Linked DNA regions of Homo sapiens: region 2 is linked to region 1. Evidence: promoter capture Hi-C in 16 types of primary human blood cells and fetal thymus (Javierre and others, 2016). All regions are on one chromosome and are shown on one strand. The core of a region is centred on a gene start or on the middle of the fragment in contact, and the rest is flanking DNA. Distances in the headings are between cores, read along the strand shown.

Region 1 (4,200 bases), core at 1,372-3,871:
AAAGCCCAGGATGGCTTGGTGGGAGTGTCCCTGCTGCATCTGCATGAAGCCCCTGCTTTTTAGGCCTCACTCCCATCAGAACCCTGCCTGCCCACCTGCAACTCCCCCCCAACAATGCCATTCCCACTTGCCCCAGAGAAGCTACTCGGCCAAACCTAGCCAGGGTCTGTTCTTGTGGACCAGAGCCAGCCTAGTCATTATTTGCTGTCGGGTTTCCAGTTTCACCGTGTGTTAGGGTGAGGGATGATTGTAAAATTTGCTCCTCAAAGGAATCAGGCCAGACTCAATTTTGGAGGGCAAGACAGGGAGGAGGCCGCTTCATCCCAGACTCTCTTCTAGGGCTTCCCACCATCAGCCCCTCCCACTTGAGACTGGTCTTTGGGAGGCAATAGGCCACCATGCCTGGTCAGCACCAATTCAAGCCATGCCAGGAATCTGCCTACCTGCCAGGTTCAGTTCTTTTAAGGTGCCTCTTCAGGGACACAGTGTGTCTCTCTGATTGGGCTTCTAAATCAAAAGCCTGATGTTCGTGTCCCTCTCATAGGGGGAGCTTTGGACACAGGACCAGTTTGGAAAAGGGTCAGGTAAGGGTTTCCACTCTGCACATTGTAGAGGGAACACTCTGTAGGCCCATGGGTCCCTTACTAGAGAGGTTGAGTGAATTTGCCTTCAGTTAACATGGGACCTTCTGTTTAGCTTCCTCTTGCTTCCCAAAGATTTTAAGCATTTTGTAAATGTATAAACTCACCTCTGGTAACAGTGGCCCAGACGCTGCTTTGTGCTAAAAGCATGGGAAATGTAAAGGCAGTCTTTCTCTGGGAAATGGATGCTATTCTATTCTGCTGCCCCTACCTGTTCCTGAGGCCTCATTTAGAAAGAAAATCCCCTCAGAAGGCTGTCTGGCACCCAGTGTCCTAGCCAGGCCAAGTATATGAGAAAGGTAAGTCCATTTTCCCCTTCAGGTCCTCAGTGGATTACTTAACCACTGCTGTCCCTCGGTCCCTTTTTCCTAAACGGGTTTAGTTCTGTCTTTTTTCTCCTTTTTTCTAAATGCTGGTAAATATTTACATTCAGCCAGGGAAGAGGAGGCCAGAGGTCGGGCCAGCTGCCCCATTCTTTTAACGTTGTAGGGCCTGCCCATGGAGCGGACCCTCCTCTTTGGGCCTCGTGAGCTTTTTTGCTTATCATGTTCCATTTCGTGCCGCTTTCCCCCTTCAAGATGCCATTTGGAGGGTAGGGGATCTGCTTCCCACTGTGACTGGGCTATGGGATTCTGACTACCTTGCTTACAGATTCATGGTTTGATAAATTTGTTGTATTCAAAAACTTGAAATGCAGGACGCCATTAAGTGTCTGTTTATATTTTTGGAATATTTGTATTACTTACAATTAATTAATAAAAGTGGGTTTAAAAAACCTTTCCAGGAATGTGAGCTGCCACCAACCTTCATTGGCCCTTAAGTGTTCACTGGGCCCATGGCAAGCACCGCCTTTCTTCTCGCAACCCCTTCCATCATGAAGCAGCTGCACCCCCGGGCTGAGTGGGGTGTTGCACCCACCGGGAGGCCAGCTGCAGATGCCACACAGGGCTTCCGCTCAAGGTTACACAAGTTCTGCTGTGATCAACCCCATTGCAGTCAGGTGCTTAGCACGTGTATATGCTTGATGTCCTATTGACTTCTGGGCATGAACCAGAAGCCCTAAGGGAATGGATTATTATTTTTTTTTTTTTTTTTGAAATGGAGTCTTGCTCTGTTGCCCAGGCTAGAGGCAGTGGCATGATCTCAGCTCACTGCAACCTCCACCTCCCAGGTTCAAGCGATTCTCCTGCCTCAGTCTCCTGAGTAGCTGGGATTACAGGCGCCTGCCAGCACGCCCGGCTCATTTTTGTATTTTTAGTAGAGATGGGGTTTCACCATCTTGGCCAGGCTGTTTTCAAACTCCTCACATTGTGATCCACCCACCTCAGCCTCCCAAAGTGCTGGGATTACAGGCGTGAGCCACCACCACACCCAGCCCTGGGAATGGAGTCTTGATTCTTCTCTGCCCCTCACTGATTCTTCCAAACTGGAAACCCTGAAGCTGAGAGCCCAGCATGGTTCCTGGCAAACAGCAGGCACTCAAATATTGATTGGTTTACTGTATGACTAGTAGAGACCCCAACGAGCAAAACTGTGGCCTAATAAAATTCTGGCTCCTCTCCCAGACTTCCCCTCCCTTTGAGAAATGCCAGAAGCTTCTTAGGGAGGCTCTTGCCAACCTAGACATCACAGGCACTCATGGGGCAGCTCCAGCCTCTTCCTCCTGTCATCACCATAATGCATCCATATCTACAATATGGCAAATTTCATATCCTTCCAACCTCTTTCCTGCATTATTGATGGGCTGTGTGCACTTTTTAAAAAATCAATTAGATCAGGGCGTGGAGCTGGAGTTCAAAGAAGCCTTTAAAAGTCTGCTCTTCTGTTTTGCTGTTTTGAATAGGCACAGATAAAGCTTTCCCTCTGGTTTGAATAAGCCAAGCTCAGTGCTAGGTTGGCTCTGATTGGCCAGGACTAGGAAAATGCGGTTAAGATGCAAACACAAGCAAATATAACCCAGTATCTCTGCGGCCATTACTAAGCTAAGGCAGCAGGACCTGGAGCCTCCTGCTTTGGAGTGGTTCTTCAATACTGCTGCTGCTTACGCGCCGGGAAACTGGGAAGGCTGGTGAGCGAGAAGGCAAGGTAAGGTCTCTGATTTACGGGGGCATGCCAGTTAATCCTCCTGAATGAGGAAGAAATGAAAGGAAGAGGAGCTTGAGAGTCCCTTGGCTTTGTCTTCTGAGATGAGGCTTTTAAAATGAACCAGGAGTCTGGCTGGCCAGTTTTGCAAACTTCTTGTTCAGAAGAACCCCTTAGAGGCAGCTGAACATATAGGGCACATTTTCAAAAGCTGGGAAAGACAGACCCCTTTCACCTATCCCTAGAGAAAGATGGTATGGAGCAAGGCAGGAGGAGTTAAAACCAGCTTCCTGGCCCAGAGAGGTGGCTTACACCTGTAATCCCAACACTTTGGGAAGCCAGGGCATGAGGATTGTTTGAGCCCAGGAGTTTGTAACTTGTGACCATCCTGGGCAACATAGTGAGACCCTGTCTCTACAAAAAAAAAAAAAAAAAAAAAAAAAAAAAAAGCCAAGCATGGTGGTGCACACCTGTGGTCTCAGCTTCTCAGGAGGCTGAGGCAGAAGGATCACTTGAGCCCAGGAGGTGGCGGTTGCAGTGAGCCGTGATTGTACCACTGCACTCCAGCCTGGGTGACAGAGCAAGACCCTGTCTCAAAAACAACAACAACAAAAAACAGCTTCCTCTGCTCAGGGTCCGTCCAAAAGGGCATCTCTGAGAATTACAGGCCACTGGCTTTTAACCTGACATTTCAAAACTGTGCCCCACACCCAAGGGGTTTCTGCAGTCCTCTCAAAGGATACTGAATTAGGATTTAGGGAGAAGGAGAGACCCAGCTTTGGGAGATTTGATGTCAGAACTGTGTTTTCTGTGTGTTCCAGTGTGACAGGAAGTCCCTTCCTGGAGCTTATCCTCTCGCATTCGGGGTGCCTGGCCCAGGGAGCTCCTTGATTCCTAAATTCCTGCTGGGAAACGGGACAGGTTTCAGCCTCTGAGGCTCACAGTCCTAATTGCTGCCGGCTGGTTTGGCTTTTACCAGGGTGACAGTTCTCTGTCTCCAAGGAATGAATTCAGTGGCCCTTGTCCCCTTCCCCTAGTTGGCTCATGGCTTTTGCCTTTAATGACTGCTACGTAGGGTCTGAAGAAAACCCAAACACCATATTTCCTGGCAATTCTGAGCAGCACAGGGTGGGGCAGCACAAGTTATCAAATTAAATTCTCAAACACTGGCTGCTCCGCACCATTGCCTTGCTTTAGTCCTGCTACAGCAGTAGACAAAGCGAGTCTGCTTTGAGCTTTATGGTTTTTTGCCAAAGTCCATACTAGATGGCGCATGCTCTCCAAACTTGGCTTTGTCCATCAAGGTTCAAGAAAACAATGGTCAGACATGTTCCTCTTAACAAACAGTATGTCCCCAAACAGCAAAAATGCATACAGTCCTTTCTGGGTGAATTTTTAAATCTTACATAAATCCATCAACCCCATCCTTTTTCCTTTGCCTCTTGGGAGAAATTAATCTAGCTTTACATTAATTATG
Region 2 (4,157 bases), core at 100-2,599, 250 kb after region 1:
ATTGCACTACAGCCTGGGTGACAGAGTGAGAATCTGTCTCCAAAAACAAAAACAAACAAACAAAAAAAACCACTGTCTCTCTACTACACAGGCTGGAGTGCAGTGGCACTATCATGGCTCACTGCAACCTCAAACTCTTGAGCTCAAGCAATTCTCCCGCCTCAGCCTCCTGAGTAGCTGGGACTACAGGTGTGTGCCACCATGCCTGACAAAAATTTTTTTTTTTTTTTAAACAAGAGACTCAGCATAGTGGCTCATGCCTGTAATTCCAGCACTTTGGGAGGCTGAGGCAGGTGGATCACCTGAGGTCAGGAATTAGAGACCAGCCTGGCCAACATGGTGAAACCCCGTCTCTACTAAAAATACTAAAATCAGCCAGGCGTGGTGGCACATGCCTGTAGTCCCAGCTACTCGGGAGCCTGACGCAGGAGAATCGTTTGAACCCAGGACAGGGAGGTTGCAGTGACCCTAGGTCGAGCCACTGCACTCCAGCCTGGGCAACAGAGTGAGACTCTGTCTCCAAAAAAAAAAAAAAAAAAAATTAGATTAAATAAGAGAGACGGGTCTTGCTATGTTGGCCAGGCTGATCTTGAACTCCTCAAGTGATCCTCCCACCTCAGCCTTCTAAAGTGTTGGGATTACAGGCATTTCTTCCAGTAAACTTTGATTTGCAAATTAAATTGCATGCACACTGACCAATGACCTTTCAAGACAGTATCTTTTCTTTTCTTCTTTTTTTTTAAAGACAGGTTCTCACTCTGTCGCCCAGGCTGGAGTGCAGTGGCGCAATCTCGGCTCACCGCAACCTCTGCCTCCCAGGTTCAAGAGATTCTCCTGCTTCAGTGTCCCAAATAGCTGGGATTACAAGCATGTGCCACCACGCCCAGTTAATTTTTTGTATTTTTAGTAGAAACGGGGTTTCACTATATTGGCCAGGCTGGTCTTGAACTCCCGGCCTCAAGTGATCCACCCACCTCAGCCTCCCAAAGTGCTGGGATTACAGGTATGAGCCACCATGCCCAGCCAAGACAGTATCTTTTCTGATCCCCTAGACTCTCCCTGGCCCCTAGGCACATCTCATTCCTCCAGGATATCCACCCTCCAACTTCAGGGTCACTGACCTATGCTCCTCCCCCACCAACATTCTCAATACACTGGCCCCACATAGGTGCCCCACACCCACTCTCACCTTGACAAATGGCACCCGGTTCTTGTCCTCGTGCACGGACAGATTTGTCTTGGTCACTGAATCAAAAGAATGCAGGGTAAGCAAGACTAGTACTTCCACCGCCCCCATCTGCACCTTGCAGTCAGCTCAGATGGTGGTTTTCTTCTCTGTGCTAAAGGAAGACTCTCCCTGTGAAGCCTAAACTCCCTGCACGAGCTGAAGGCTCAGTTCCTCCTCCTTCTCCTCCTCAGGGCTCCTGCTCCTCGGCCCCAGATCCTCTCGAACTGTTTATATGTAGTCCTTGGCTGCTAAGCTCATCTCCTGACCTTCTCAGTTTTTGGAAATTCTGGTAAACGGGGCCAAAAGACTTGGGTGCTGTGTGCCCTCTGCATCTCTTGTCAATTGGTACCTAATTCCAAATGCAATGTGAGCTTTCTTTTCTCCACCCTCCTCACACACCCTCATCCACTGGGACAAAACACTCACCATCCAGAAGGTCACGAATTTTGTCCAGGTAAATTTCAAAGTAAGAAACCTGGTTAAGAAGAAAGAAGGAGTGTGAAGTAAAGAGGGCCTATCTTAAATCTAGTTCAGGAATCCCATACTAATGTGACCTGCTCAAACGGTGGTGGGAGGAAAAGAACAGAAGAGAACATCTTGACAAAGAACTCTGGTAACCGGAAAGGGAGTCAAGTTGGGGAGCCCAGGCTCTTCAGTGGGAAGATTTTAGATCTTCCCCTCCCAGTCCCCATCTGAATGCCCAGCTGTCGTGCCCTGGTCACCTTGATGTGGAACTCAAGGTTCTCATCCATGGAGTAGATGTGGTTGAAGATGTCTCGGGCAATTCGAGGAATGATTCCCATCAGCTGAGGGTCGTGCAGCTTTCCCTGGCGAGTGAAGGTATTTGAGAGTGAAGCTGGGGCTCAGGGAGAATGAGACAACTCAGATGTATGCAGGTGAACACCAAGGCAAGAGTCAATAAGAAGAACATCCTAAGTTAGGAGATGGTCACCACCATGTCTGCCTTTTAGAGGAGCAAGGAGATAATTGAGTAGCCCTTTGGACTTCCATTGCTTTTCCCGATCAAAAGAAGACTGGAGTAGTGGAAAGGATGATCCACTGCAGTGGGTTGGAGGGATTCCATTAAACTTCCCCTAATATTGCCCTTCAGTTCATCCTCTGTACTCATCTATCTGCCTCTGGACCAGGCAATCCTTGATTCCTAGACCTTCCCCCACTGAGATTCCCTGATCTTCCATTAACACTCCTAGCCCCTCAACCACCAAAGCCAGAACCCTCACCTCCATGGTATGTGTTTTCCCTGAGGATGTCTGTCCATAAGCAAAAATGGTGCCATTGTAGCCAGCAAGGACATCTGGAAGAGACAGTAGAGAAAGAGTACTGGTGGAGATAGGTCGGGTAGGAAATGGGGTGCTGAGAAGAGACATTCTAAAAAGAAATCTATTACCTTTGACAATCTGCATGGCACATGCATGATAAACTTGCTCTTGAGTCGTGTTTGGGGGGAATACACGGTCAAAAACATATGGCTTCCCCTGGAATGAAAATAAAAGATATCAGACGTCAACAGGCAGGATGTGAGGGAAAAGAAATACCACAACCTCCTTCCAGCAGCTGAGAAAGGCACCCTTTTCTTCAATGCCCTTAATGAACAGAAATGTGGGAGAATGGCCGGGCGTGGTGGCTCACACCTGTAATCCCATCATTTTAAGAGGCTGAGGCAGGCGGATCACGAGGTCAGGAGTTCAAGACCAGCCTGACCAATATGGTGAAACCCCGTCTCTACTAAAAATACAAAAATTAGCCTGGTGTGGTGGCACGTGCCTGTAGTCCCAGCTACTCGGGAGGCAGAGACAGGAGAATCGCTTGAACCCGAGAGGCAGAGGTTGCAGTGAGCCGAGATTGCGCCACTGCACTCCAGCCTGGCGATAGAGCGAGACTCCATCTCAAAAAAAAAAAGAAGAAGAAAAGAAAAGAAATGTGGGAGAATAAGAGAAACTAAAGGTACTGATGCCAGGAGTTGTGTCTGTGGGGTAGAGGAGTGTCGCACAGTGAGATTGTGTTAGGGGATCTTAGTCGTGGTGTGATGATTGAGCACTCCACTACCCCAAACTCCTCCCTGGGAAACCAGATGAAAAAAGACAATAGGGCCACAGGTGATGAAAATTGAAGAACAATTCATTAACACTAAAAAGTATCTCAAGCTAGAAATATCTTCCTCAACAGATCCACGTACCCTGATATGGAAAGATCTTTAGATGTACTAAGTGAAAGATGCAAAGTTAGTGACATATATTTATAGCATGTTCCCTACCATGTAAATGAAATTCAGTCTACACTGAGAGCCTCTGTGGAAACATTAACACAAGCTCTCTCTCTTTGTGAAAGGAATATATGAAATCAGATATGTGGGTCTCCCTTTAAGAACAGAACAAGCTTTAATTAAAGAAGAACTGTGGGTCGGGCACGGTGGCTCAAGCCTGTAATCCCAGCACTTTGGGAGGCCAAGGCAGGCAGATCACCTGAGGTGAGGAGTTCGAGACCAGCCTGGCCAACATGCTGAAACCCCATCTCTACTAAAAATACAAAAATTAGCTGGGCGTGGTGGCAGGCACCTGTAATCCCAGCTACGCCGGAGGCTGAGGCAGGAGAATCGCTTGAACCCAGGAGGCGGAGGTTGCAGTGAGCCAAGATTGCGCCACTGCACTCCAGCCTGGGGGACAAGAGCAAGACTTCGTCTCAAAAAAAAAGAACTGTGAAGCAAATCATTCAGACTTACAAATCCTTGTTTAATTCAGGAATATGTTGTAAATCACATGTGCTGATAAGAATGATAAAGACACAAAATACTTACAACTTAGGAAGCTAACCAATGAATATATTTGATGGCTAGATGCATTAGAGGTAAATCTCTGGGACGAGTAAATGAGACAATGCTTGTTCTCTATCATAGGTGACTGACTTGTCA

What was found. The method cuts DNA at HindIII sites, captures the fragments that hold promoters and counts their contacts. A CHiCAGO score of 5 or more calls a contact.
Region 2: a fragment that was not itself captured here is called in contact with the fragment with the promoter of AVIL in region 1 in 5 of 17 cell types (naive CD8 T cells, M0 macrophages, naive CD4 T cells and 2 more); the score reaches 6.1 in naive CD8 T cells.

Annotation. Positions count from the first base shown.
Region 1 is chr12:57,817,155-57,821,354 of GRCh38, reverse strand. AVIL (advillin) reads left to right here and starts at 2,621. Exons shown (of 20, transcript NM_006576.4): 1 at 2,621-2,726. It overlaps CTDSP2 (CTD small phosphatase 2), which reads left to right. Exons shown (of 8, transcript NM_005730.4): 8 at 1-1,428. The HindIII fragment of the contact is 1,940 bases long and covers 2,499-4,200 here.
Region 2 is chr12:57,562,006-57,566,162 of GRCh38, reverse strand. KIF5A (kinesin family member 5A) reads right to left here. Exons shown (of 29, transcript NM_004984.4): 2 at 2,637-2,724; 3 at 2,470-2,543; 4 at 1,951-2,055; 5 at 1,655-1,703; 6 at 1,190-1,245. Among named protein-coding and RNA genes, the nearest start is that of KIF5A, 14 kb to the right of the region's middle. RefSeq lists silencers at 2,874-3,091, 3,785-3,951. The HindIII fragment of the contact is 4,556 bases long and covers 1-3,627 here.